Regions from separate parts of the Homo sapiens genome. Here regions 1, 2, 4, 5, 6 and 7 are each linked to region 3. Evidence: promoter capture Hi-C in 16 types of primary human blood cells and fetal thymus (Javierre and others, 2016). All regions are on one chromosome and are shown on one strand. The core of a region is centred on a gene start or on the middle of the fragment in contact, and the rest is flanking DNA. Distances in the headings are between cores, read along the strand shown. Region 1 overlaps SMYD3 (SET and MYND domain containing 3). Region 2 holds the start of SMYD3-AS1 (SMYD3 antisense RNA 1). Region 3 holds the start of KIF26B (kinesin family member 26B). Region 4 overlaps SMYD3 (SET and MYND domain containing 3). Region 5 overlaps SMYD3 (SET and MYND domain containing 3). Region 6 overlaps SMYD3 (SET and MYND domain containing 3). Region 7 overlaps SMYD3 (SET and MYND domain containing 3).

Region 1 (3,838 bases), core at 55-2,554, 810 kb after region 3:
TATTTATAAAACAAAGGGTGAAAGGTAAGCTAGGGGGAGCTGACCAACTAGATGGTCTGTTAAACGCCTTCCAGTGCTAAGAGAATTGCCTTATTTTCCCATTGCTCACTGTGTTCTCTTGTGACCACCTGAAGGTCTCTGCCAGCTCATCTTATACCAGTGCTGTCTTCCCTGTTTGATGGCTCATTTCTCTAAATAAAGCATAACATTCACAGAACAAAATGAGTAAAATCTCTGTTTTTTTAGTTCACTGGACAACATCACTTTTCTTTTTTCATTTTTGAGACAGGGTCTTGCTCTGTTGCCCAGGCTGTAGTATGGTAGTGCCGTCACAGCTCACTGTGGCCTGGACCTCCCAGGCTCAAGTGATTTTCCTACCTCAGCCTCCTGAGTAGCTGAGACTGCAGGTGTGTGCCACCATGCCCGGCTAACTTTTTCCATTTTCTGTAGAGACAAGGTTTCATCATGTTGCCCAAGCTGCTCTCAAACTCGTGACTCAAATGATCCACCAGCCTCAGCCTCCCAAAGTGCTGGGATTACAGGTGTGAGCCACATGTGCTCGGCCACATATCTTTTTATTTTAAAATATTAATAAAACAAAATTATGCAGGTAAACTCTGAGTCCAAAGGGAAATTGGCATTGACTTACAAAATTTAATCAGATACTTAGAATTCACTGAGTTAACACGTGCATACTTGACCTTGCTTGATGCAAAGATCTGTGATATGTAATCATTTGCTACTTCACTGAAGATGTTTGAATCCTCCTTGTTGTAAGGTTGACTCCACAGGAAAAGACTGATTCACATGGCTTTGTTATCATTGGCTTTCTGTTATGAAAGCAGACAATTTAGGTCAAGGGACAACAATCTATTTTTCTGCCTGAAAATGACCCCGACATGAAAACCAACTGATAGATTGGTTCATTTCTATTACCAGCACTAAAGAATGGGCATAGGGCTGGGCACAGTGGCTCACACCTGTAATCCCAGCACTTAGAAGGCCGAGGCCAGCCTGGGTAACATGGGAAAACCCCCATCTCTACGAAAAAAAGACACAAAAATTAGTCAGGTGTGGTAGTGTGTGCCTATAGTCCCAGCTACTGAGGAGGCTGAGGTGGGAGGATCACTTGAGCCTGGGAGGTGGAGGTTGCAGTGAGCTGAGACCATGCCACTGCACTCCAGCCTGGGTGACAGAAACCAGACTCTGTCTCTAAATAAATAAATAAATAAATAAATGGCATAAATTAGCCTTATAAATTACTTTAATCCTGAATTTATAGAATCGTTACACATCTAGAGGAATTACTTAACTTTTTCAGATATACTTTGCATTTTTCACAGAGAGAAAAATAATTACATAGGCATTTTCACATTTGGAAGTTCATAACTCCCTCGGGACCTATTCCACAGGAAGGCCGAAGGCCAAAGGTCTCTTGTATATTATCTAGCTCCTTAAAATGGCAACATTTAAAAAAAAATCTAACCTCCTTCTCCCCCAAATCAATTCAGTTTGTTGAAATTCTTCCATATGCCTTAAAACTACCAAGGGAAGGCAGAGTCAGACAAGGTTTAAATGTTTGTAGGCATCTGAGAAAGAATTGAAAACAATCAGAGTAGAGATGGTGGTCTACTCTGCATTCTCCCTTGGGCGCTACCACAAAGGCACTTCTCTGTACCCATCAGCAGAGCCGCACATGCTCTCTCTTCTCATAGAAACAGGGTCAACCCTCATTTCTAGGAACATAATTTTCAACCACAAAGTTCCCTTCCATTTTTTACTTTCCTGACATCAGTCTGCTAAGTGAAGATATCTCGGTAAGAACTCCAATTTTAAGGGGAATGAATCTTTACAGAATGTACTTTATCTTGTCAGCACTTTGAATCTAAATTTCCTTCTCACCCTTTCACCCTAAAATATCAGCTTGCATCAGGCACAAAGGAAGATGCACAGCTGCAAGTGCTCAAGATGACTAAGGAAGGAAAAGCAGACAAGTCACTAATTACTCTCCAAACTGGAGGCCTAAATCATCCTTCTCTTCTACCTGTTGTTTCTGGAATAGTTTATGTCAGTAATGGAAAATTTAAACACTGTCATATAATTCCATTTTTTTTCCCCACTCCAGCTCTTAAAAACATCCTAGATGTTAAGATGTGTAGCCTAGGACAGTGGTTTTCACACAGTGCTCTAAGGAACCTTTAGAGCCAGACACACAGAGGAGGTATCAATAGGAGGGGTCTGATGCCCCTTCGACACATGTTACTATAATTAACATGTATTTTGAGACTGAGAATGTAGGCTCCATGAAAGCCGGGATTCCTGTTTCCTCACAGCCATCACCTCGTCCTTTTAACAGGGCCCAGAATACAGTAAGCTGCCGGATAAAAGTTTTTTGACTGAATAAACTGCACGGTTATTACAGCTGGGAACTGATTTCGCTGATTTCCACGGTAACCCTGTGAGGCACGTATAGTAGTTATCCTCACTTTGCAGATGGGCAAACTGAGGCTCAGAGCAGCCTGGCTTCCAAGACCCTCCTTCTAAACATCATACCACATGACACAGCCTCCCACGTGAGCCAGCAGCTGTATTTCATCTGTTTTACATGTGAGGTTTCCCACCATTTGACTGGAGAAAGGTCGATGTTAGGGGAGAAAAAACCATTTAAAAACCACCAACTTCATGGTGAAATCCAAAGGCTGCAAGTAATCAATCTCACTCCTTGCTCTGTTTTTCCTGCCACCCTTGGGACTTGACGCAAGTGGCTTAACTGCTCATTGTTTCAGGTTCCTCATCTTATTTTACAACCTATCTTGCAAGATGAGTATACATGAAATATTAGAGGATCCTGATGTTGTCAGAAGTGTAGTTTTGCGGATGTTGATCCCAGAATTGTGAAACAAGGACACGGTTGAGATGATCGCTAAACTCTGCCTGAAGTTCAACGCCTCTGTCATTGAAGACCTTGCACAGTGCCGTCCACATGGTTATTTTATTCCTCCATGTCCTTACCAACTAAACAAGCCATATGATTTTAGGTTTCGTGGCCAGACAGCCTGGCTAAGCTCCTATCAACATGTCAGCCAGATGAGGTGAAGAGATGGAGAAACAAACCTGCATGTGGGTTGCGTCGAACAATAAAGAGAAAACAGAGACCAAAAATCTTGTGCCAAGGTTTGACCTCAACAACCGCAAAACCAATCATTGCTGTGTTGTTTCACTATGTTTCTAGAAACATCCATAGAGGAGAAACCAAAGTCGGCCTGAATACATGTTAATAGCTTTCACGGGCTTACTTCTGATATTTTAAACAGGCAACAAAAAAGAAAAACCAAGTTTCAGATCTTGCCAGAAATTGGGGTTTCACTTAACTGTAAAACAGTCAAGGGGAGTTTATCAGGTAAGACACGAAGCCTTTCTTTATAAGCTCTTATAAGACTAGAGACCACTGGATTGCCGTGCAGTTACTGCCGCTGGCATTATTTTCTTAGCACACTAAGAAAAATAAAAATGTTCAAAGTCCTGTTTTTAAAAACAGGATGAGACTTCTGGCTTCTGATCTGGTATGTAAGAAGCTTAGAAGTCACCATTCCATCCTAACAACAAGTAAAAAGCTAAACAAACTAAAAAATCAACCATTCTTCTTACACATTTGAGATGCTAGATATATTAGCTTAATTTAATTATTCCACATTGTATTAAAAACTCACAATACCACTTTGCATCTTATAAATATACACAACTATAATTTCTCAATATACAGTGTTAAAAAAAAATTCTTAGATCTGCCAAAGAAATAAGGTCACAGGGCAAGCTGCTGCCCCCAAGACTAGAGAGA
Region 2 (3,796 bases), core at 1,203-3,702, 960 kb after region 3:
CATTCTTCATTCTATTCACCACTTAGTTACTAGAATGTTTTTCTCAACTATGAATCTGACTTCACTCCCTTTCTTGAAAACCTCCTGTAGTTCCTGTTGTGTACGGGATAAAGGTCAGACAACTTAGTATAGCCCAGCTCAGTCCAGCTAGCAAAGCAAATACTAGCTTTATTCCCTGCAAGCAACGTAAGACAAAGACAACCACACTAAACTCAGTATTAGCAGACCACCATCCTCCCTGAGGCCTCCACTGCTTTGCACACACTCTTCTCTTTCTCAGAAGGTCCTTTCCCCTCCTCCTGTTGGTGCAGCCAATTCTTTCTCTTCCTTCTAATGCACCATCTTCTGTGTAGTCTTCTTTGACACTAGGTAGGGTTACATCTTTGCTCTGTGTTTCTATAACACTCTTCATATGCCATGGAACTGCATTCATTATATTGGTATAATTTTATTTGTCTTTTTTCTTCCTAGACTGTGAGCCCCTGGAGTTCAGGGACCATTTCTTAATCATATTCCAGAACCTATCACAATGAATGACACGAAGAATATATTTGATAAAAATCTGATGAATGAACCACTCTAAAATGCAACTCTAATAAAGAAAATTACTGCCTATTCAGTTGGAACTGTACCATGTTACAAACGTAAAATTATGTATAGTCTGATAAAGAAATACTATAATAGCCTTGGAAACAGCTCACATACAATTTTTTTTATAAATGGATTCATTACCATATAACTGGACCAGCTTACTGAAGAGTAGCCCTACAGCAGTCACTTCGCAGTTTGCAATTCATTTGAGGTTCAAAGCTAGCTCAAGGGAAAACAACGTTAGTATTAACAAACTTATTTTTAAGCTTAAGGTCAGAATTTAAGGGAAAATAAATAAATATAGTATGTTCTAAGAATCCAAAGGAATTTTTAAAAATTGCCCCCTGCAGCTGTAATTTCTGCATGGATGAGAAAACCTTAATTGCTTGCTGGCTTCCAAGAAAGCCATTAACCTGCATTTAAAAATTCAGCTTTCATCAAGAACAACCTCACATATCCAGCTCTCATGGAAAAAGGAATAGAAGCCTCTGACCTAGTTTTCAATTATTACCAAACTACTGATAATTGATCTCCTGGTCTCCAGGTTTGTTTGTTTTACTAAAATAAATTCCCTCTGGAGCTGCAGGTGCTTACCATGGGGCTGCGCAGGTGGAAAGCAGCCCAGTCTTACTATGAGGATGTCCGTTTGCCATCTGGGAACAAGGAGGAAGAAGCAGAGACCTGGGCAAGACCTCAGAGTAAGTGTCCTTTTTGGCGGCTCCCAGGGGTCCCCATCATGTGTTATAGGAAGGCAGAATTATTTGAGATAAGGATAGGAGCTGAAATAAGCAGTGCTAATACTGGTTAAAAGTTGGTGCTTCAGCTGCAGTCACAACAGATAATGTCTCTTCAGTTATATTTCCAAGCTATTTCTCATTTGGCAATGTACACTTACACCAAAACTGTGAAACTCTCGGAAGTGGCAGACCTTGGCAACAAGTGAATGGAAACTGTGAATTACAGTACATGCCACTGAGTAAGGGGTGCACATCTAGAAACCAGAAATCAGGTTCTGTCTTGGCTCAGCGTCTAACTAGATGTGTGGACTTAGACAAGTCATTTAACCATTGGGGATTCAGTCTCTTCATCTGTAAAGAGTTCATTTAGATGATCTCTTAAGTCCCTAAGATCCCCATTGTTAGGTCCAGGGTCAGGTTCCAGCCCATGCTGAGGCCGGAAGGGAGTGGGTAGATGAATGGCAGACAGCTGAAAGAACACTCAGGGGGCTACGGGTAGGTGAAATACAATTTTATTCAGCAGCTCTCTTACACTGTGTGTCTCGGCTGCTTGTTCCAGCCACTCCCAAGCACAGATCTCTGCTGGCTCTCTCTCCCTTTGGGGTCAACAGCTTAACTCTTTCCCTCTGAGCGCAAGCAAGCTGAGCTGTGTCCTGGCTCCCCGCTGCAAGACAGACAGATCTGGTGCTCTCTCTCTTTCTTTGGGTGCAAGCACGCCTGCACAGTGTCACCAGGGCAATTATACCTTTTAAAGACAACAGTGGCAAAGAGCCAAGTGATGGCCCTCCCATGTTATGGCTACATAGCTGTTTATATTACACATGGAGTTGCGCGCCTGCGCTACAGACTTGCTGAGTCACCCGGGATGTTTACCTCAGCCCATCCTGCCTGGCTGCAGTGCAGCCATGTTCCTTACACCTACCAATTTAAAAGTACTGTAATTCCATTTTAAGGGTTCTAAACCATGAACCATGTTCATGGTTTAGGATTTTAGATATTTCTCATTTAAACTTAGGAGCGAACTCTGCATTAGGACATTTCTCCTTTCATTGTCCATAAGATAACTCACCAAATCCTTGCGCAAAGAGAAACAAATATAAACTACATAAGAAATGACAGGTGAGCCTTACCAAGGACCCTGACCCATGCATAACATCTTAGTATAGCATATATATATATAGTATATGATAGAAACATGCCGTGGGCTTTCATACCCTCTACAATAGTTCATTATAAGTTTCATCCCCCAAAGAAGGCAACTTACATACTTAAGTTTTTCTAAATAGAATCCAGGTGCTTTCACCAGTGATGCTCTCCAAGGGATCCCATCATAGTAATCAGTCTAGCCAGTGCCAACTTCAGTTCTACTAAATTTAATGCCCTCTTATTTTGACTCAGGAATAAATTATCTCAATGGCTACTTACATGGTCCAGCATAGCAGAAAAAAAAGCCACACTGAGCAAGCAGTGGTCCTTTCCATGCTACACAAGCAAGAAATGCCTATAAAGACAGACTTGAGTGCAGTCTAAAGAATCTTTTGCTTTGCCTTAACACTCTACTTCTGGATATCCTTGCTCAAAAAGAAGTCTACTCAAGGTGTGTATCTTTCCTCTTTATAAGCCCTCTGGCCTCAGGAAGACTGGTTTCATTCATGTGGTCATGTTTTTGCACAGCTTAAGACTAAACTGTATGATCCTTCCTTCTGGGCTCCTACAAGGGCATGCCAAAGTCCCCTCAAATAACCAAAACGGTGCACATCCCCTTTGCGTCCCACAGCAGTCTGCTAGTTTATGTAATACCATAATGACAGCTATCTGGAGTGGAACAGTGACACTGCTTTTTCCCAGACTACTTCACCATGTGAGGTAAACGGTAGAGGCAGCAATAGGTCTGCTCAGTCTATGGCTAATACAAGACCTTGCTTATGATAGACTTCAAGAGCTTCTTATTAGCCAGCTGTTAATTCATACAAACTGCACAGAAATTCATTCTGGAGCAATATTATTTGTTTCACATTATACTTAACCTTGAAAAGGTTAGTTTTTCAATGGGGGATGATTATCCTGGATAGATGCATACCCCCTACAAACATGAAACTGGCAAGTTCACTAAAGATTTCTCAAGAGCCACCAAGCTAGCAAAAGTCGCAACCAAATAATATTATATACTCTGCCCTTCAGAGCAACCTTCTTCATGCTGAAGTCTTCAGTTCACAGAATGACTGACTTATTTTCAAAAGAGGAAGGCTGTATTGCATATTGTAACTCTCTCCAAATCTATACTTATGAGCTAATTCTTCAAAAGGTAAGATCAATTACCACACAGAAGGAGAAGCCATCCATTTTCTTGAAGCTGTCAAAATTTGAGCTGTCTCCCATAGGATTTCCACTGACAGTTAATGAAAAAAATCAGTATCTGTCAATTTTGGAAGAAATTTAAAAGTGGTAAGATATTCTTATAAATCGAT
Region 3 (4,258 bases), core at 676-3,175:
AAATGTGTGCGTTTCATCTTATGTATATACATTTTACATAAACATCAATTTTTGAAAGCTTCTTAAAAACTCTTGCAGAGCCTCCGGTTATAAACTTTAATCAACAGAGGGCGCTCGGAGCCCACCAAACACGCTTTGGGCCCCCAGCTACTTAGAAATGCAAATCAGAGCAGCTCTGGGCTCCCCCGTCTCCGAGGTGGATCGCGCAGCTCCCCAACACTCCCCCTCGACACCCCACCTTCCCCACCCGCGGCCTCGCCGGCTCGTTTCACCACACGCTGCTTTTTGGCTGATAAGCGGCTCGTGGCCAATGGCGATGATGTGTTTCGCGGCACCTACGCGAAATACAGATGCGGGTGGGAGCTGGCGCGTGCTGCCTGGAGGTGTACCTGCCCCCTAAGGTCCCCTATTGATAGGATCGCTTTTAAATTGGAAGTGGGAACGTAACGGAAACGTCCACTCTGTTCTTGCCATCTTCCTTTTGACCTTTTTACCTCGCTTTGGTGGCTGTGAAATATTCCCGCGCAGGAGCTGGAGCGGGGAGGAGTGGGGCAGAGCACGGGAGGCACAGAAGAAATTGTCCCCGAGGAAGGCAGAGTGGGGGCGTGGCCCCAGGCTTCCAGAACCCCGAACCTTTGTCTTCTTGCCCCCTCCTGCGTCGTCCACAGCTCAGAAGGAAGTCAGCGACCAGAAAGCCCTGAACGTCCTTCGCGCCCTCGCCCACCCCCGGGCTGGGTCTCCCCGCGGGCGCGGAGATGCCGTTACACCCCACGTGATCCCTGCGCCCGGCCAGTCCTTCCAGAGGCGTCTCGCGGGGTGTTAATTAAAGGTCACAACAAAACAGACCTGCTGGCTCACCAGAAGAAATGTCCTCCCGTGAAATGAAAAATGACACCCCAGAGCAGCCACGTGTGGAGCCTGGCATACGCCGGCTTCCTGCGCTCCTGGGCGCTGCGCCGGGGGACTGGGGCGGGGGGCGATCGGAGAGGGAGCGATGACGGGGTGCTCCGGAGACCCCGCGGGGCCCAGGCGCAGGAAGAAACGGGCGGCGGGGGGCGAGGGGCCCGATCCCACGCAAGGAGAGGCCAAGGCCAGCTCGCGCCACACCCCCTCTCCAGGCCAGAGTCGTCCGCGTGCAGCGCGGCGAAGCCCTCAGTTTCCCCTGCCCGGCAGCGGCCCGCTGGGTCACCAGGCTCACCTGTCCCAGCCCCGGGCGGCTTAGTCCATCACAGACCGGGGCTCGGGCGGGCGGGGGACCAAGGGCCCTAGTCCTGCGGCTGCGGTCGGGGAGGGTGGCCCCCCGGCCGGCCCGGGGTCGGTAGGGCAATTCCAGAAAAGGTTTGCCCGGCAGCTCTCCGAGAACAAAGGGCGGGGGGAGGACCCGGCATGTTTGTGGACTTGTTTGTGACTCAATCCCTTTTGCACGGCGTTTCACAGACAGACCTGCAAGCCTTGTCAGGAAGAGAAAGAACTTGGGGGCGGGGGAGGCTGGGGCACCGCATTTCCGTCCAGCCACGCTCGCTCGCGCGGCCCCCGGGCTCCAGGCTCGCGCAGCGGCGTTTCATTAGAGCCCCGGGCCCGGGCCGCGCGCCAGGAACTTCCCCGCACGCGGCGAGATCGACGATCCCCCGCCCCCAGCCCCAGCCCGGCTCCAGGCCTCGCAATGTCAGGCACGAGCGCCGCCACATAAAATGGATCCCGGCCGGCGCGGCGAGGGCGGCAGGTTCCCGAGGCTCCTCCGCGCTGCGCCCGGGCGCACACGCGCGCTGTGACCGCCGACCGCTCCCGGGCCACGCGGAGCCGCCCCTCTCCCGGCCCTCGCGCAACTGTCAGGCGAAACGGGCCGGCGGATATTGGCTCGGCGACACGCCGAGGCTCCTCCCCGAGTCTGGATCTTTATATTTTGGGAGAATTTCTTTGAACTCAGTTACCAAGCTCGGTGAAGGAGACAAGTTCCCACAGCTGACTCGGCTCGGCTCTCCCACCTTCCCGGCAGCGGCCGCGAGCCCTGATTGTATCCCTCGCTTTCCTCGTGGGGGAGCACGGACTGACTTGGCTGAAGAAAATGCCAGTTCTGTGGATGTGGCCGTGACAAGAGGACGTGCGGCTGGAAGAGGCAGAAGGGGACGAGGAAAAGCATGCTTTGAAGAGAAGAATAAACCAGCGACCCCAACCCTTTCTGCAAATTGGTGCTATTACTTGTGGGATCCATTTGCTTTCATTCCCTCCCACCCCACCGCTGAAGAAACCTTGCCCTGAGGGCTGAGAGCCAGCCCCCTGCAGCCGGGGGACGCTTCTGGGTTGGAGGACCTTCTGGATGTAGCGTCGGTGGAACCTTTAGATACTCTCCTCTGGAAAAGCCACCATGAATTCGGTAGCTGGGAATAAAGAGAGGCTTGCGGTCTCCACCAGGGGCAAGAAATACGGGGTAAGTTGTGACGGTACGACGCGGAGACGCGTTACCAGACCCATCTCGGCGGAGGTCCCCCTTTCCCCGGGATCGTGCGGCCCCGGCCCCGAGCTCTCCCCCGCTGCAGAGGCGCCCCCGGGGCTGGCGGGGTTGTGAGTGCGCGGAGGCGGGTCGGCCGCGGGGACGCCCGCACGCTCGCCTCGCTCTCGGAATTTTTTCAGCCCTCTCGTTCCTTCCTTTCCACGCACCCGTAACTTTTGCCGCATTCCTGCACTTCTAGGCAGAGTGAAGCCGAAGGGGAGGGTTTCCCATGAATGCTGGGCAGTACCTCGGATCGTTTAGCTGGAGCCGTGAGAGCCTCTCGTTTACCTGCAGGATCCGGAGAGTTGGACCCCGTATGAATAAAAATCCTGAAATCACAGCCCTCCCCCTACCCCCCCCATAGGGTCTTCCAGGATTTTGTTCCCGGGATCTTGCTGGGATAGGTGCCGGCTTCAAAAGCGTGGGGCGCTGAACCTATGGATCCCCCCCGCCTTGCAGAAGCCGTGGAAACGGCCCCGAGCGAGTCCCCTTCCTGACCCCAGGAGGAGGCCACCGGGGACCAGCGCAGGGGTCACCTGGGCGGTGGGGACTCACTTAAGGACAATTAACGAGACAGACGGAGGGCAATTTGGCCGCAGGGCTTGGAGAGGTCCCCAACCGACTCCCGTGGGCGGTTCGAGCGGGTACTTGGTGGCGCACGTATGACCCAGCTCCTGGGCGCTGCAGCCCGCCGCCTTGCAGCCCCTGACACCGGCGTGTCTTCCCCGCAGGTGAATGAAGTCTGCTCGCCCACCAAGCCCGCAGCGCCCTTCTCCCCGGAAAGCTGGTACCGGAAAGCATACGAGGAGTCGCGCGCCGGCAGCCGGCCCACTCCTGAGGGCGCGGGCTCAGCGCTCGGCTCCTCGGGGACCCCGTCTCCCGGCTCGGGCACCTCGTCCCCGAGCTCGTTCACCGGCTCCCCGGGACCCGCCTCCCCCGGCATCGGCACTAGTTCGCCGGGCTCCTTGGGCGGCTCTCCGGGCTTCGGCACAGGCTCCCCGGGCTCCGGCAGCGGCGGCGGCTCCTCCCCCGGCTCGGACCGCGGCGTCTGGTGCGAGAACTGCAACGCCCGCCTGGTGGAGCTCAAGAGGCAGGCCCTGAGGTTGCTCCTCCCGGGGCCCTTCCCGGGCAAGGTGAGCGCCGCGCGGGGCTGGCTGGGGAGGCGCCGGGAGGGCGGGGCCGGGCCGCCACCCACAGCAGCTGCTCAGCCCGCCGCGACCTTGCGCGCCGGCTCCACGCGAGAGCCCCCGGCGGCGCTGGGGATGCTCCACACCTCACGGGGCTCTAGCACGCGGGGCGACCCATGCCCCTTCCTCAGCCAGGCCGCCCGGGGGGCAGGAGGACCGAGTCCCGAGCGCGAAGGGGCGCCCGTGGCCACAGGCCTCACGGCCCACGGGGGAGGCCCCCAGGTGGTCTCTCCTGCCGCCCCCTCCCAGCTCTCCCTGGCGGCTGCAGGCTGCGCTTTCGATGTTTCTCCCCACCCCCACCTGTGATCCTTTACAAAAATGTCAGCGGGAGCTGTAAAAGCAAGCTGATGCTCGGAGCTGGCATTTCCCACTGCCTGTTTGTGGTCCATCCTTTCCGCGGTTGCAGAAACAGAAACATACTCGAAAGCCAGCATTTTCCCCTTCTCAGTCTGTGTGTGTGTCTGAGGAAGATCCGGAGGCGGGTGGCTCTTCGGAGCAGTGCTCCCTCCTGGCCTGCTCCTGCGCCAAGCACACTGGTTCCTCCATAGCAACCCTGCCCGCAGTGTGTGACTGGCCCGAG
Region 4 (4,250 bases), core at 816-3,315, 780 kb after region 3:
ATGAAAGAACACGAAGTATGAAAACACACTGAGTCCTCTGAGACTCTTCCACTGCTCCAAACAGCTCTTACATGAAATCTAGTGCACTCTAGCATGATTTGGCTTTTTTCCCTCTAAATATATAAAATTGCAGTTTCAAATCAGGAGCAAAATTATACATATATATTTGTAAACAAATGCTAAATTGCTTTAAGGACAACTATTTTGCATTAAGCAGCAACAGTACATTGTCTATATATACTTATGTATAAATTGGATGGTAAAAATATAAGACAGAAAGTCCTACGTTTAATTTTTGAAATTTTAAACATTTTTAAATGTGTATAATTTGGGAAGGGATACAAGTTTTAACAAATATTTTAAAGTATAATGAGAACTTTAGTTGAAATAATCCACCAACAAAAAAACCAGGTCAAACACATCTGATCTGTTAACTTCTGAATCAAACCAGCATGGTTTTTTCCTGGACTATGAAGCAAATTAACGGTTTTTTCAAAATAGGAAAAATCTTTATCAGTTTTTTTCCATCGGTTTATTTCATGGATTCTGATGGAATGTTTAAGAAGGAAAAGCTAACAAGAGGAAATGTCAGCTTGCTTGTCTCTTCCACTGGGAAACTCTTCCTGATTTCCTAAGATGACTTCCCTCTTTAGCAGCATTTATCATACTGGATCATTATTTACCCATTTACTTGCCATCATACACAACTGGATCGTAAAATACTTGGGAGGGCAGACACAGTGTTTCATTCATCACTCTAGTCCTGTACCTGGCTCAAAGCCTGGCAAACAGAAGACACTAATAAATCTATTTCCTTTTCTTAGAGACAAGGTCTCACTCTGTCACCCAGGCTGGAGTGCAGTGGTGCGATCATGGCTCACTGCAGCCTCGAACTCCGGAGCTCAAGTAATCCACCCTCAGAGCCTCCGGGGTAACTGGGACTACAGGCTGGCACCACCACCTCTGACTAATTTTTTAAAACTTTTTGCAGAGACAGGAGTCTTGCTATATTGCCCTGGCTGACCTTGAACTCCTGGCCTCAAGTGGTCCTCCCGTCTCGGCTTCCCAAAATGCTGAGATTACAGGAGTGAGCCATAGCTCCTGGATTTCATCTATATTAGTCTGAGTGTTACGTGTTAGTCTTTCTGGGCTAGTAAACAGAAGGTTTAGTTTTTTGCCTACTCTCACTTTTATTTAAAATGCTGGCTCCATCCAGCACTATCTCAATTAACAACCTGACAGGAAATATTTTTGACATACACAACTGATAGCAACAGTGGATATGCAGAAGCTCTCTGGCTTTTTTTTAGTGCAAGAATAGGTAGATAATATGTCCATGTGTGCTCAATAATTTGAAAGGAATTGCTCTTTATATCAAGAATTAAAAGAATGGAAATAAAGCCCAGAAATAAAAGTTTAAACATTTTTCAAAGTACTGTCTTTGTGAAAACAGTTTTCTTAGGGAATTGCACAGGTTAAAACAATTAATGAATGCTTACTTCACAAAAAGATAACATTTAGAAAAAAATATTAATGGTACTACTTCAATAAAAAATAAATGCAACTGGGTTAATGAATTCTTTCTAAAAATTAAGCTTGAGTATTACTTTAGAAATTTTTACCATGTCTTAAAACTAAAACACATATTTAAATTGTTTTATTATTGAATGCAAAGTTATATTTACTTTCTGTAATTTTTCCTTTAAACTAATTGAAAGCCTTCATATATAATATTATAGTTTTTCTAGATGACAAAAATCTAGTGAGTTGTCATTGAGCCTCTGTATTTTATAAAAACAACTACAGTGAAACTTAAAATGTTCTGTGAACCAAATTCTTATGTCATTTGGTTCAGAGTCTAGGTCCAGAATCTGACATTTGTGTCCTGAGGTTAGCAATTCCCCGGTAGATTAGACACAAATAGCAAAATCAATACCAACACACAAAGTGAATACCTTACAAAATGAGTGTATTACCATGTATTCAAATTTCATATTTTTCCTGAAATTCTTAGGACTAAAGGCTTTGTATTGTAGCAGCAGTTAAACTGAGATATTTGCAACACAAGAGAAAATCACTACTAAGCCATTATCTTGCAACGGTAAAAATCAGAACAGCCATAAGCAAACTCACAACCAATCAGAGCTGAGTAATTCTACACCATAAGACAAGAACCCAGCCACTTCCCAGCCCCCTCCCCCAATTACTGAATTCTACACAGCCTATTTCAAATAATACTTTCAATTTCCCAATATATATACAAATTTTAAAACACATTTAAAAAGAAGGGGATTCAGTTTCTGAACACAACTATACAGAGGTTTCCTCCAAGACCATCTGCATCTCCTTTAAAACTTTTCTGTCTAAAATGTTCAGTACAGTGTCTGGCACAGAAGACTTTAGGCACATCAAGTTTACTAACTAGAGGGACTAAATATGAGTTTTCAAAACGGAGTTTAATGTACTTAGTTTTATTAAACCCTGGACAGAAAAACTGGAAGGAGGAAGAGTTGGCAGGTACGAAAACCAGAAGCAGAAGCTTTTACACTACATAACTGCCTCTGCCCCCCGGCACCCCGACTCCTAGAACTAATATTTCTCTAACTTTAAAAGCACAATAAGAATTTTAATCAGGGTATATTTTTCTCTACCCACAGAATATGACAGGTTATTAAGTACAGATTTTTTTCCAGAATCTTCTCATAAACCTTAAGAGATTAAAAATTGTATCTCCCAATCCCTCCTTATCTGTATGGCAAATATTTATCCATCCTTCAGGACCCAATTCAGTCCTTGCCTGTCCCATTGCCTCTTTTGGTCACATAGTTAAAGGGTTTGAAATCTCCAAACCAGAACAGCGGGAGGGGACCAGGCTGGCGACGGAGGTCAGCTCAGGAGAGGAGAGGCTATACTTCTTAAATGATGATTCGCAAATCCCAGAATCCACAAAGTGTTACCGGAAGGTTTACGAGAGTACAGGTGATTTCGGCATCTGTTTCAATTTCAATTAAAAAAAAAATCCATAATAGAAACAATGACCAACTACATTTCCCTTTGCCAGGAAGTTGCTGGAGGGTCTCAAGTTTTACCAGGGAGCATGCTGTAAGGTTGCGGGGACAAAGGCCCATGCTCACGACTTAGTCACTAAGCTGCATCTTCACTACACTGCTAGTCTTGCGACAGTTTGACATTATAGTTTTCCATTGTTTCTTAGTCACGTTATTTCATTTGCAAACCTAATGGACCCCTGATTAAAGACAGAAGCAAGTAGGAGATATGACTCCAAAGCACAATGTAGACAAATGGGGTTGCATCAAACTAAAAAGCTTCTGCATAGCACAGGAAATGGTCAAGAAAGAGACAACCCACAGAGTGGGAGAAAGTATTTATAAACCATACAACGGATAAGAGGTTAATACCTAAAATATATAAGAAACTCAAGCAACACAATATCAAGAAAACAAACAACCCAATTTTAAAATGGGCAAAGGATTTGAGTAGACATTTCTCAAAAGAAGACATATAAATGGTCAAAAGATTCATGAGAAAATGCTCAATATCACCAAATGCTCAATCATTAGGAAAATACAAAATAAAATCACAATGAGGTATCACCTCATGCCTGTTTCATCAAAAAGATGAAAGATAAACCTTGGTGAGGATGTGGAGACAAGGGAATTCCTGCACACTGGTGGAGTCTACATTAGTCCAGCCATTATGAAAAACTGTACAGAAGTTACTCGAAAACCTCAAAATAGAACTGCCATATAATCAAGCAATCCCATTTCTGTACTCAACTAACTAAAATAAGAGATATCCGTGCTCCCACTCTCACGTGCACTGCAGCATTTTTCACATTAGCTACGATATGGAATTGACCTAAGTGTCCATCAACAAATGGATCAAGAAAATGTAGTATAGATACACAAATGGAGTAATATTCAGCCCTTAAAAAGAAGGAAATTCTGTCATTTGCAAGAATATGGATGAACCTGGAGGACAGTATGTTAAGTGAACTAAGCCAGGTACAAAAAGACAAATAATCCATGATCTCACTTATATGTGGAATATTAAAAAGTCAAACTCATAGTAATAGAGTATAATGGTGGTTACCAGAGGCATGGGCTGGGGAGAGAAATGGGGAGATGTTGGTCAAAGGGTGCAAAGTTTCACCTTCTTCACAGGAGGAATAAGTTCTTGAGATCACCACAGCATGATGACTACAGTTAATAATAAATTGTATATATATT
Region 5 (4,149 bases), core at 436-2,935, 890 kb after region 3:
CGAACAAATGAAAACTTTCGACGGAAGGCTGAGACACAAAATGGAGCGAGCATCCTGGTGGGAGCCAGGACGTACCTATCCACATGTGCCTCGGGTAACTCTCAGGCCACTGTATTCTAGACGTTAAAAAACACTTCTCGACACAAATACGAATCCTATCAAAAGAAAATTAGAAAAGTGTTTTCTAGGTGATCGCTGTATAAAAATTTCACAAATCACCCATTCTATCAGGCTTTGCCTAGCTCCAACATCTTTCCGACATCAGTGACATGGGGGCATCTGTTAGAGTTCTTACAACTAGGGGATCTCTCGGGATTTCCACTTCATACTCATTCTTCTGTTCCTGCATGACTGTGCTCCAGGGTCTAAAGGCTCCTAGCCTTAGTTTGTAATGAATTTAGTTTTTGCATTCTATAAATTTAAAACAAATATCTTTGTGGAAATTTTGTAAGTAGAAACAGGGAAAGTAAAATGTTGCCAATTAAAATACATGTTATTTGCATAAAATAGGCAAGACTTTCAGGAAAAAAACACTGGGGAAAGGATGGGAAAAAGAACAAACAAATAAACAAAAATTGGCCGTTCAAGTCTCTACCAGAGTTTAATATTTTAAAGTCACAATTTCCTTTCCTTGTTTTCTCCTACCATGGAGAAGCAGACACAGTTATAAGTGAAGGAACAAAACATAGACCGTGGAAATTTGGAGGTTTCAGCATGGATTTGCATCCTAAAAAATACAAATAGCAATGTGTAATAACAATTTAAAATCTCTCTTGTTGAATTACAAAAATTATCCTGGCAATTGTAGTCGGTTGCTCTGTCCTGACCAAAACAAAGTTATTCATATTTATATGCCCTCATCCCCATATACATGCATATTGAGATGTATATTTTATTTATATGTTCATCTAGATGTAAACATAGGTATATGCAGATATGCACCCACCACACTTCACTATACTGTCTACAACATGCATATTAGAAAATGTGTATTTACCGAAACCAACATATAAAACCAAAGTGGCAAAGGCTTTGGGGAATAAGAAAGACACAGCTCTGTAATAAGTCTAACACCTGTGAATGATCTGTAGCAGCCTTCGAAATGTGGGATTGCTGTATCCCTCAAACTGATACTACAAACTGAGATTTCATGTCTCCATTTACACAAATTGATTCCATAAATTCTACTAAGCGCCAATGGGTAAGACTCACAGCATGTGAGATCAAAAGAGTAGGAGTAACTGGCGACAGTTTAGTTGAGCCACAAGATGACAAACATCAGTCACAGGGTAGTAAGGAGGGGAGAATCATCCAGAGAAAAGCCGTGGAGAGGCGTTTTCTCAATTGATTAGGTCATGCTGTAATGGAGCCAAGGGCGCAGGTTCAGTACTCTCTGCCAATGACCTATATTGTATTTCAAAGACACAGACCAGGCCCAATAGTTCTCAACATCTTGCCACTAGATCAAAAGGGATATGAGAAGAAGAGTGGCTAAGCCCAAGCTTATTTCAAGTACTAGAAAAGTAACAACATTAACGCAGCATTGATTAGTACCATTGTCTTAGCGTAAGTTACAGTTAACGTCCGACATGATCTGTGATGTAATAGAATTAAGTAAGACATTTCTCCCGGCTAGTATTAAACTGTATTTATTCAGTCAACCTTACAAGATCCTATCATGAAACAGAAATAGCATTCACTTTTCAAATAGCTGTATTCTAACACGTGGTTTGCAATTAATATTGGGCTGTTTTGGATATTTCCTGTATTACATATACAACCGGGATATTAATAACAACAAAGATGAAAACAGAAGAGGATTTATGTAGCTCCGGAGGGGTTCAATAAGTAGGAACATGACCCGGATTCAAGCTTCCTGGCACAGACACCCCACCATCACAGCTTATTCAGAAATTAAATACTTGTGCTTCGCCACCACAAACGCAAGTGCTGCCGCTTATCTTTTTTCTCACGAAAATGTGACCTTGGGCTCAGAATGGTGCTGACCCAACGTCTCACTTCTCTTAGAAGAAGTATCTCAATGAAGCTGATGCTGCCGTCTGAGCACTGCTTTCTCGTAGGAATTTGCCAAATTAACCCAAAATGCAGCCAGCCACCAAACAGAGAAACAATTTAAGTTTAGCCACGTGGGGATAAATCCTTCTGGATGTCAAGGTCCTCAGCTGGGGCTTATATTAAACCAGTAGTTACCGACTCCATTCCCCAGAACAAAATGACTCATGGGGCTCCCGTATCTCCTTTCATTTGAAAAGGTGCTGAGGTGGTAAAATATTCTGAAAACTCCTGTAGTCATTGATTCCTCAGTTCTTATAGAGCGCTAGAATTTTGTGGTCTACATGTCACTGATTGTAACACATCTTAATATTTGCTGCTTAGAAATATGTTTGAAAATCATGTAAAATATCGCACAAATAGCAAATAACTAGAAGATAGATGGTTGTGTCTTTTTCCCTCTCTGATATATATAAATTCTCCAAGAACCACATGGTAGAAAAAAGACAGATATATAGTCACGCACTGCATAATGACATTTCAGTCAAGGACAGAACACACATACAATGGTGGTCCCATAAGATTATAATACTGTATTTTTACTATTCCTTTTCTATGTTTAGATACACAAATACTTAACCTTGTGTTAAAATTGCCTCAGCATTCAGTACAGTAACATGCTGTTCGGGTTTATAGCCCAGGAGCAAGAGACGATACTTCACAGCCCAGGTGTATAGTGGGCTATACCATCCAGGTCTGTGTAGGTACCTCTATGATGTTTGCTCAGCTATGAAGTTGCCTGAAGATGCACTTCCCAGAAAATATTCCCACCCTTAAGCAACACACGCTGGACCCACCATCCTGAGGGTGGAAAGAAGCTCTTTAGAGTCCCCACAGAGTGAAATGACTTCATGTTTCTCACTCTCTCTCCTCAGTGCGGACTTCAAAATAAAAATACTAATCATCAAAAGACAAAATTCTGCATATGCTGAAACCTACATAACAGCATTCTGAAGTTTCTAATAGTAAGTTTCTTATTAGCTTGTCCCAAGTTAAACTTCTTTTGTGAAAGGAAAGTCTCTGTGTGTGTGTGCCTGGGCATGTATCCCAGTGTTGCCAGGGCCCTACGTCGTATGCACACGATAAGTCCAAGACCTGTAGTGGGTAAACTCAGCAATGTTCATACTCTCTAAGTAGGTAACGCTAAAGGAAGAGAGAGAAAAACATTCATAGCCTGAGTGATCACATAAACTGGGTATATCAGAAAAATCATGACTTCTGGTTCTGGAAGAGAATTGGAGGGGGTATAACCTCTCTTCCAATGGACGGACTCAGAGTTATACCTAGCTCAATCTAGATGGTATGTAATCTTTATTGGGAAAAAAAAAAAGGGTGACTAAATACATACGCTTTAATCATAATTTGTATTCCTAGATGAAACTACCAATAAAAATTGCTACCTGCGTATTTCCTGGGCCCTTATGAGGTACACTCTGAAACACTTTTTCTAACACTCTCCACCACAAAATTGGTTTTATTGCTTTCATTTCATAGTTGAGAAAATGATGGATTCAAAAAGATTAAGCAATTTGTTCAAGGTCTTATGACTGATAAGTCACATTTTGAGGATGGGACCCCAAGTCCATTTGATTTGAATGCCCATAATCCTCTAACTGCAGAAAGCTTCAAGTTTTCTGTGTGTTCTGGAAGGCACAGCTACAAAGAAAAGCTAATATTTCCCTCTAAATTCTACCTTTATATAGCTCATCATTTGAATTTATAACACTCTCCAGCAGTAACAAATACTTACGTTTCTCTGGATTCACAGATATATACTAAATATTTTAAGAATGGAGAGAAACTAAGATTGGAAACAAATTAATATGACAGGAAAAAAACTGTGGAGGAAAATCCATGGGAACGTATAAGAATATAACTGTAATTCAAGAGCCACATACTCAGGGTTTGTAAAAATTCCTAACTGCAGATTAAGCAGTGAGGAGCTCAGCACCTTCCACAGGTTCACACTCCAAGCCACGGAGCACTCAGTGGCACCGGTCTGCTCTTTGGGAACACCGTTCAATTACCTCTCTCCATGTAAGGACTTCGCATTATTAGTGAACCGATTCTAACACA
Region 6 (3,814 bases), core at 1,131-3,630, 820 kb after region 3:
ATACAAAAATTAGCCAGGTGTGGTGGTGCATGCCTGTAATCCCAGCTACTCTGGAGGCTGAGGCAGGAGAATTACATGAACCCAGGAGGTGGAGGTTGCAGTGAGCCGAGATCGTGCCACTGCATTCCAGCCTGGGTGACGGAGTGAGACTGTCTCAGAAAACAAAAAACAAAAAACCCCAAAACTTAAAAGATTCTCCCTTGCATGAGAATCTTATTTGCCCTCCACTTACCACCATTTATAATAATTCCTCTTTTTGTTTCCTTCCTGCCCTGTTATTAACACCTCTGAAGGTTGGCCCCATGCAGGGAACATACTACTTTTATAGTGCACTCGGCTGGCAAGCAGTCTTTCTTACTTTCTCTGTGTTGTGTCTATGTATACACAGCATATCTGTGAGGGAGATATTAATATTATTCCCATTTTACAGATAAAGAAGATGTGAAGCATATGGAGGCTAAGCCCCTCCCTCCATCAGGCCACAGAGCCAGGTGCAAGCCCAGTCTCACCCCAGCATCCTGGCTCCTGTCAGCTGTCGTTTATCATCACTATACACCAGCACGCCTGGCTCTTTGTAGGAGCTGAGTGAACATGGGCAGAAGGAATCGTGAAGTAAACGCTTCCAAGTCGGAACATCCAGAGACATTTGGTTCCTCTCTAGGTGCTCTTACCCATTCCTAGTTCTACTATTTATGCTGGGAGGCATCTTCTGTCCCTTACTAATTGATAAGTTCATCTAGGGCAAGAATCATGATTTATCCATCTTCGTGCCTCTCATGATACCCAACAGTAGGCGCTCAAAAAACTTTTCCTAGTGTGTGCAGGCATTTAAAACTCAGTAGAAATTAACCACAATTGCAATGAAGTAAAATTCAACTAAGAGTTCCCACAAAAAATAAGTACAACAGTCACCATTCCAGTCATTTATAGAGCTGATCTGAATCCAGAGGTAAGTTTCCAGAATTAAAGAGCTGTTTTATAGACTGCGTCTTTCTACTTCACGAGTGGGTAGAAATCATCTTTATTAGAAAAAAAATAAGTGCGGGAGGGCGGGGGGCAGAGAGAACTATTTCAAAAGGTTTTTCCCTGTTTGTCCTAAATCCTCCAGAGCAGGCAGTTAAACGTTGAGTCCAGCGTTTCGGAGCCTGGCCAGTCTATTACAGGCCTTGGTGGTGAAAGGCAGAGTGGCCTCATCCAAGCTTTGTCTCTCGTCAGCAATGCTACCTGTGCTGGCCTTTCCGCCTTACTTCCCAAACTCCTCTCCCATTTCTCATTTCTGCTCCCATTTCCCCTTGTTCCCTCCAACACTACGAAGGCAAATTATGGGGCTCAATACTGAGAAGTCCTTTCCACCTTATTGATAATGAATTTCTTTCCTGGGAAACACCTGGGAAAGAGACCAAAAATTCAGGACAGTACAGCCTAATCTGAGGTATCTGTCCATTCTTGGCAGGTATGCATTGCTAAAAGCATGTGACTACTACCGTATATCAGAGAGCCCTTTTATGGAACGTGGCTCTCTGCTCCATGAGTGGGTGGAAATAATATTTAGTGAAAAGAAGAGTCTCGGCATCTTAATGAAAGAAACCTAGATAGGAGATGAGTCATTTAAACCCTCTCTCTGTCATCACACAGAAATAGCTTGAAGAAAGAAGGAGTCAACTCAAATGCCCAAGGAGGGCAATGGCAACAGAGATTTGGGAATCTTTTCCAGGGTAAAAACAACTGGGATGGGCTAGGGGTGAATAAGGAAGTTCCATCCTGTCTAAAGGTGTCTGTTATGGGGTGAATTATGTTCCCTCCAATAAGATTATGTTGAAGTCTTAACCCCCAGTACCCTAAAATGTGACCTTATTTGGAAATAAAGTCACTGTAGATAGAATGAGTTAGGAAAAGATCACACTAGAGAGTAAGTAGGCCCGAAATTCAACATGACTGGCATCCCAGTAAGAAGGTGGCCATGAGAAGACAGACACAAGGAGAGTTCCACATGAAGACGGGGGCAGAGACTGGGGTGATGCAGGTACAAGCAGGGAACACCAAGGACAGCCTGCTGCCACCAGGAGCTACGGGAAAGAAACGGAACAGTCTGCCTCAGAAGGAGCTCACCCTGCCCACACGCCCTGATTTCAGACCTTTACCCTCAGAATTGTGAAAAAAATTTTGTTGTTTTAAGCTACCCTGTTTGTGGTATGTCACCATGGCCGTTTTAAGAATCGAATACAGCATCCCAATTCAGACTTAAAAAACGCAAGATGACCAAACCCAGCCCCGGCAGCTAGATGGTCTCTAATTCCAATGCTCACTATTCAGTGGGCAGTCACATTTCTGTCAAAAACAAAAATGCAGTTACAAAACATTTTCTGGCTAAACAATGCATTCTCCTGGATCTCACACATCAGAATTATCTTCCAGATCCCAGGGGTGAGAAGCGCAGCTTCTGCGTCAGACACCAGTCTAGTGGACATCGCACGCTAGCCCTGCCACTCGCCAGCTGTGGGGCTTTGGGAGCTCTGTGCCTCAGTCTCCTCCACCTATAAGTGGGAATGATAGTGAAGTCGGCCTCACAGATGAGGATGCAGGGCACACTGGGAAGCCTGCTGAATTACAACGAGGGGGAGAACTCAGCAACCCAAGCGGCATGATCTCTATCACAGGCTGCAGCACTGGATTTTACCTTACTGTGCATGATTTTTCATTTGCTTTACTGTGAACTCACCTAGGACGGGGTCCAGGCCTTGGTCACTTTTGCTCTCCTTGCACATGTGTGGCAGGTAGTCAGACATGCCTCGGGAATGAAGGCAGGAATGTACTTCATCGACTCCACTCCTGTGATGTGAGATCCCTGAGGGCAGGACCCAAGTCCTACATCAACCCTAGAGCCCAGCACCAGGTAAGAGGCCACACAGAGGGCAACGAAGTCATTGTGTTGGAAGGACGTCTGTAGATGTATTGCTCAACTCTGCCAAGCTAGCATGGGAGCAGGAATTAAATGCTTCATTCCAGTTTCAAGGTCTGAGTTTGTCTGTTTCCTTTCTGCTTATCACACACATGACATGTAGAACAAATTAGGGTGATGCTTCCTCACTGAGGCTTTTTGGGAAACCTATTAAACCAAGGTGGAAAAAATAATTCAAGAACATGACAAATGCAGCTGTCAGTAACTCTGCAACAGGCAGCAAATGCTGAGAAATGCACTTATTCTCTATGGCTGCCGACGTTGACTGGAAAGCTGCTTTGCAGTCTGGGAAACAAATCCCTACTCCAGACTGTATGATATGGATTCTGTCTCAGTGGATTGGCATTGTCTAGACTAGCAGTCAACAAACTACAGCCCATGGTACCTCGGCCACTGTTTTTGTAAATCAAGTTTTGTTGGTACTCGTCCCTGCCTTTCCAGTTATGTATTGCTTATGGCTGCTTTTGAGCTACAAGGCAGAGTAAAGCAGTTCTAAGAAAGACGGTATAGCCCAGAAAGCCTAAATCATTCACTATCTGACCCTTTAGAGAGAGGTCTGTTGATCCCTAACTTGGAGTATCCCACTGTGATTACACTTAAAATTAAGCTTGAAGAGGACAGAAACCTTGTTTATCTGGGTCAGACCTATCTAGACGATGACCTACCTGATTTATAGTAGGTGCTCAATAAGTCTGCAAAGAATAAACATGAGGCCAAATAAATATTGAGGTTTTAGGACAGGTAGTGCCAACAGCACACAGTGCTAAGGGGATGCCTGCTGGGCTAGACCAGTGTCCCGAAGCTCTGCCCTTTTTGAGAGGATGAGGATCTGCCACTGCTGGGTGTCCCTTGGTT
Region 7 (4,288 bases), core at 1,787-4,286, 970 kb after region 3:
AGGCTGAGGCAGGAGAATGGTGTGAACCCGAGAGGCGGAGCTTGCAGTGAGCCGAGATCGCGCCACTGCACTCCAGCCTGGGCGACAGAGCGAGACTCCGTCTCAAAAAAAAAAAAAAAAACACACACACACACACACATCTGGAATTTCCCTTATGGAGTTATGATGTCTCAATGATTACGGAACTTTACTACATTGGTAAAGATGTTGATGGCAGCATATTTAACACTGTGAATAGTCTTCCTTAGTACTTCATATATTGAAGTTGAATCTGCATCCCATACCCTTCACAAACCCCTGCATAATGAATACTATTTAAGTCATCAGAATATAACTTTCATCATGTTAATTTTATCTGAAGAATATGCACTGGCTCTTTATTGCCTGTTATGCCACATTCAAATTCCTCAGACAAAATCCCACTGTACCTATGTGGTAAATGGGGTAACCATACTATGTATGACAAGTTTCTATGACAAAGAAACTTGAGATTTCTAGAAACCAGGTCTTTCAGATACCTCTTCACTTTGATATAGATAAACTAAAGAGGAATAAACAAATAAAATTTAAAATTTTTAGCTATTTAATATTTTAAAAGTAATCTACTGAGTATAGAACAGTTTTTAAAGTTCAGCTGAGGACCACGATTTATGAGCTCGAAGGAAAGACATACTTCGATGGAGTGGTAACATATAATAAAAGACCCTTTGGTAAAGCTAAGAGGAATAAAAGAAAGAATGGCAATGGCAAAAACAAGAGGGATGTGATGACGATCAGAAGTGGTGAGAGGGATCCTGAATAACAGACAAATATGGGCAATATGGCTATGAACCTTAGATAACGACAGAGAGGAAAACAGCCAATCAAGCAATCAGTCCATCAATGAAACATCACCACCAAGAAAACATAATTTGTAATTCGAGTAGTAGTAAAAAGGAGTGGCAACTACCTATCCACTGTATCCATTTTATACACAACAAACTTTGAGGAATCTATAAGATGTATTGGAAGGAAGAGACTAGAGGGTTAGAAACCATCGGAACAGCATTTCAGTATCCCCAGAAGCTATCAGCCAGCCATCTGGAAAGTGCTTCAAGCAGAATAATTCCAGAGCACTAAGAAGCATTACTTACACACAGCGCAGTGCCGTGCCAAGCTAAATCATGGAGCAACACAGCACTGCAGCTTGGACAGGATCCCCATCTGGGCATGAGCACTGCAAAGGAGCTTTAGATCAGTGGTTCTCACTGGGGGTACTAGGGACCATTTTCAGTATTTTCAATTGTCACAATGGCATGTGGTAGACTGTAGCCAGGCCTGCTAGACAGGACAGCCTTAGATAACAAATAATTACCCAGTATCCTCCAAGTCTTTCAGATGTTCCACCAGACTTGCCGGTAGGTGAGAAAATCCTGTTACTTCTTTGAATATAGAGCCTAACTGTATTTTACTTACAGACACAAGTGTTTCTTGCACTGTTTAGTAGTCACTGAATTATCAAGGAATGCAACATCCTTAAATGTAAATTGAAGAGGAATTATACTTTGTTTTGTTTGCAATTGTACCAAGAGTTGTTCATCATTGTGAAAAATCATGTCGACAATTCATGGCATTTCAATCACCAACACAATAACCAGGCATCAATCTACATACACAGATGTTACATTTATAGGATTCTATGTATGTTTATGTGTATACTTATTTACTCCTTATTTCAAAGCTTCAAATAGAAAGAAAAGCTTTTGCCAATACTCAGTTGAATGTTGTTTTACTCCTCTTTAATCCAAATATATTCATTGCAAGTAGGTCCAAACATCTGATGACATCATTTTATCTCCAGGAATAGTCAACAAGTAAGCATTTACATAATAAAATGCACTGAAAGCTATCTTTCTCTTTTCTTTATATTAAAATTGTAACACTATTTTAATACTTAAATTTATGTGTAGAGGCAGTTATATTATTAATACATTTCATTTCAGAAATGAAGGGGATATTCCAAAACACATTACAAAGATGCAGCACTGAATCTAATAGGGTTAGTAACCACTGCTTTGGATGCACAGAGAAACCGTAGAGAGCGGATTCCAATGTATCTACACAGGAAGGTAAAGTGCAAAAGTACCAAAAGGTGATGCTAGCTCTGTAAAGGAAAATATCATTTGCTCATGATTAGAAGAGAGAAATACAGATTAATGCCATATAGAACTCTGAAAGGGCAGCTTTTCCTGTTCTTTGAGGATGCTTGGTTATTGTAAGCGGTCACAAGGCACCAGTTCCCATGCCAACCTGAGTCAACTGCAGCACCAAACCATAGACTGCATAAACACCTCAATATTTCTCATTCACAGAAAAGGTGAGAACTTTTTTGTCAATAACTTCAACAAAGATGAGCCCAAGTATTTTCAGAAATACTAGCATTTTAGTGTGATGATACTGCATTGGAAAGTTGGATAAAGTAGACAAAAGATAGTTGAGAAATCCTGTAGAAGAATTCTGTATTTTGTTTTAGTATTTTGTTTTTAAGGAGCTAATTTCTAGTTTGTTTTCTTCTATTTCTGTTGTCTGTAAGCAAAAAGAACTAATTTCCTTACTGGTCTAATCCCTAAACTCACTGCAGTGGAAATGAGTGAAATATGAAAAGGAGGCTGGGTGCGGTGAATCACGCCTGTAATCTCAGCACTTTGCGGGGCTGAGGCGGGTGGATCACCTGAGGTCAGGAGTTCAAGAGCAGCCTAGCCAACATAACGAAACCCCATCTCTACTAAAAATACAAAAATTAGCCAGGCATGATAGCGCGTGCCTGTAATCCCAGCTACTCAGGAAGCTGAGGCAGGAGAATCACTTGAACCTGGGAGGCGGAGGTTGCAGTGAGCCACGATCACGCCCCTGTGCTCTAGCCTGGGAGACAGAGCAAGACTCTGTCTCAAAAAGAAAAGAAAAGAAAAGAAAAGAAAAATACGAAAAGGAGAGGAGATTATATAGCTAAAATGAGTGTAAACATAGATTATAATTTCCAGTATTACTATTTTAATTATTAGTATTAAGTATGCATTTATTATTATCATCAACTTTTACAAAATGCAGTAAGGGTAGAAATGTAGGCGTAAAGCAAAGCCCTGTTTGGTAGAACAAAATCCTACTTGGTAGTAACAATAACAATCAAATACCTCCAAGTCACTGTTGAAATGTTGTCTTCTCCACGAGGCCTAATGTGACTTTCTATGTAAAACTGCAAGTTGCCCCAATTCCTGCACTCCTCCTCCCCATCTCTATTACGATGTTCAGTTTTATTTCATAGCTCTTACCAGTTTCTAGCATACAAAGTAATTTGCTCATTTATTATGGTTATAGTTGCCTCCTACCTCTAGAATATATTTCTATGAGGGGAGGAACTGTTCACTATACAGTCCAGCATGCTGAAAAGTGTCTGGAACAGGGTAAGTTAACCAGTATGTATTTGTGGAAAGAATGAACAATAGCACATACCATTTACTGAGTGCTTTCTATGGGCCAGGCACATTGATAAGTGCTTTACATAGAAATCTTATTTAATTTTTATTATAAAAGCCTGCAAGGTAAATATTATGAATCCTCAGTTCATAGATGAACAAACTGGGATTTAGAGAGAGTACAACAGCTGTTCTACATGGTACAGCCAGTGAGCAGTGGGGCTGGCCCTCAAGCCCAGGCAGTCTGACTTCAAAGTTCCATACTCGCCACAACAGAAACTCAGTAGAGCTCAGATACTCTTTTTCTCCCTTTAGGGGGTGAAAGGAGTATCTGGATTAGTCAGCTCCATTGTGCGTGTGTGTGTGTTGTGTGCTTTTTTGGTTTTGTTTTGTTTTGCTTTGAGATGGGGTCTCACTCTGTTGCCCAGGCTGGAGTGCAGTGGTGCGATCACAGCTCACTGCAGCCTCAACTTTCCCCAGCTCAGGTGATCCTCCCACCTCAGCCTCCCAAGTAGCTGGAACTACAAGCACACACCACCACACCCTGCTAATTTTTTTGTATTTTTCGGGGTTTTGCCATGTTACTCAAGCTAGTCTCGAACTCCAGGGCTCCAGCGATCTGCGCACCTCGGCCTCCAAACGTGCTAGGATTACAGGTGTGTGGCCCTCCCCACTGTTGATCCCATTCTTGTTCATTGCGATCCTTCAAAAAATATGCAAGATGGAAGACAAGGTGCAGGCAGGGGACAGATGGGGAATCTTTGTGTCTTCAAAATCTCTCAATTTTGCTATGAAACTAAAACTGCTCTAAAAAAAATTAAGCCTTTAAAAATAAT

What was found. The method cuts DNA at HindIII sites, captures the fragments that hold promoters and counts their contacts. A CHiCAGO score of 5 or more calls a contact.
Region 1: a fragment that was not itself captured here is called in contact with the fragment with the promoter of KIF26B in region 3 in 7 of 17 cell types (total B cells, endothelial precursors, naive B cells and 4 more); the score reaches 8.2 in total B cells.
Region 2: a contact is called between a fragment that was not itself captured here and the fragment with the promoter of KIF26B in region 3, in 4 of 17 cell types (naive B cells, fetal thymus, naive CD4 T cells and 1 more). The highest score is 6.2, in naive B cells.
Region 4: a fragment that was not itself captured here is called in contact with the fragment with the promoter of KIF26B in region 3 in 1 of 17 cell types (erythroblasts); the score reaches 5.2 in erythroblasts.
Region 5: a fragment that was not itself captured here is called in contact with the fragment with the promoter of KIF26B in region 3 in 1 of 17 cell types (naive B cells); the score reaches 5.5 in naive B cells.
Region 6: a fragment that was not itself captured here is called in contact with the fragment with the promoter of KIF26B in region 3 in 13 of 17 cell types (M0 macrophages, M1 macrophages, total B cells and 10 more); the score reaches 10.2 in M0 macrophages.
Region 7: a contact is called between a fragment that was not itself captured here and the fragment with the promoter of KIF26B in region 3, in 1 of 17 cell types (total CD8 T cells). The highest score is 5.3, in total CD8 T cells.

The regions. Positions count from the first base shown.
Region 1 is chr1:245,959,515-245,963,352 of GRCh38, forward strand. All of the region lies in intron 5 of SMYD3 (SET and MYND domain containing 3), which reads right to left. Among named protein-coding and RNA genes, the nearest start is that of SMYD3-AS1, 150 kb to the right of the region's middle. The HindIII fragment of the contact is 4,538 bases long and covers 1-3,573 here.
Region 2 is chr1:246,108,605-246,112,400 of GRCh38, forward strand. The region is part of intron 5 of SMYD3 (SET and MYND domain containing 3); the gene reads right to left. SMYD3-AS1 (SMYD3 antisense RNA 1) reads left to right here and starts at 22. Exons shown (of 4, transcript NR_183265.1): 1 at 22-113; 2 at 1,178-1,289; 3 at 2,727-2,925. RefSeq lists enhancers at 1,447-1,948, 1,949-2,448 and a silencer at 3,003-3,297. The HindIII fragment of the contact is 3,194 bases long and covers 856-3,796 here.
Region 3 is chr1:245,153,060-245,157,317 of GRCh38, forward strand. KIF26B (kinesin family member 26B) reads left to right here and starts at 1,926. Exons shown (of 15, transcript NM_018012.4): 1 at 1,926-2,428; 2 at 3,223-3,624. The coding sequence starts at 2,366. RefSeq lists enhancers at 62-737, 738-1,413 and silencers at 1,268-1,467, 3,335-3,874. The HindIII fragment of the contact is 4,692 bases long and covers 57-4,258 here.
Region 4 is chr1:245,931,755-245,936,004 of GRCh38, forward strand. All of the region lies in intron 5 of SMYD3 (SET and MYND domain containing 3), which reads right to left. Among named protein-coding and RNA genes, the nearest start is that of SMYD3-AS1, 170 kb to the right of the region's middle. The HindIII fragment of the contact is 944 bases long and covers 1,594-2,537 here.
Region 5 is chr1:246,038,427-246,042,575 of GRCh38, forward strand. The region is part of intron 5 of SMYD3 (SET and MYND domain containing 3); the gene reads right to left. Among named protein-coding and RNA genes, the nearest start is that of SMYD3-AS1, 68 kb to the right of the region's middle. The HindIII fragment of the contact is 370 bases long and covers 1,501-1,870 here.
Region 6 is chr1:245,977,521-245,981,334 of GRCh38, forward strand. All of the region lies in intron 5 of SMYD3 (SET and MYND domain containing 3), which reads right to left. Among named protein-coding and RNA genes, the nearest start is that of SMYD3-AS1, 130 kb to the right of the region's middle. The HindIII fragment of the contact is 2,367 bases long and covers 1,198-3,564 here.
Region 7 is chr1:246,124,968-246,129,255 of GRCh38, forward strand. The region is part of intron 5 of SMYD3 (SET and MYND domain containing 3); the gene reads right to left. Among named protein-coding and RNA genes, the nearest start is that of SMYD3-AS1, 18 kb to the left of the region's middle. The HindIII fragment of the contact is 2,599 bases long and covers 1,738-4,288 here.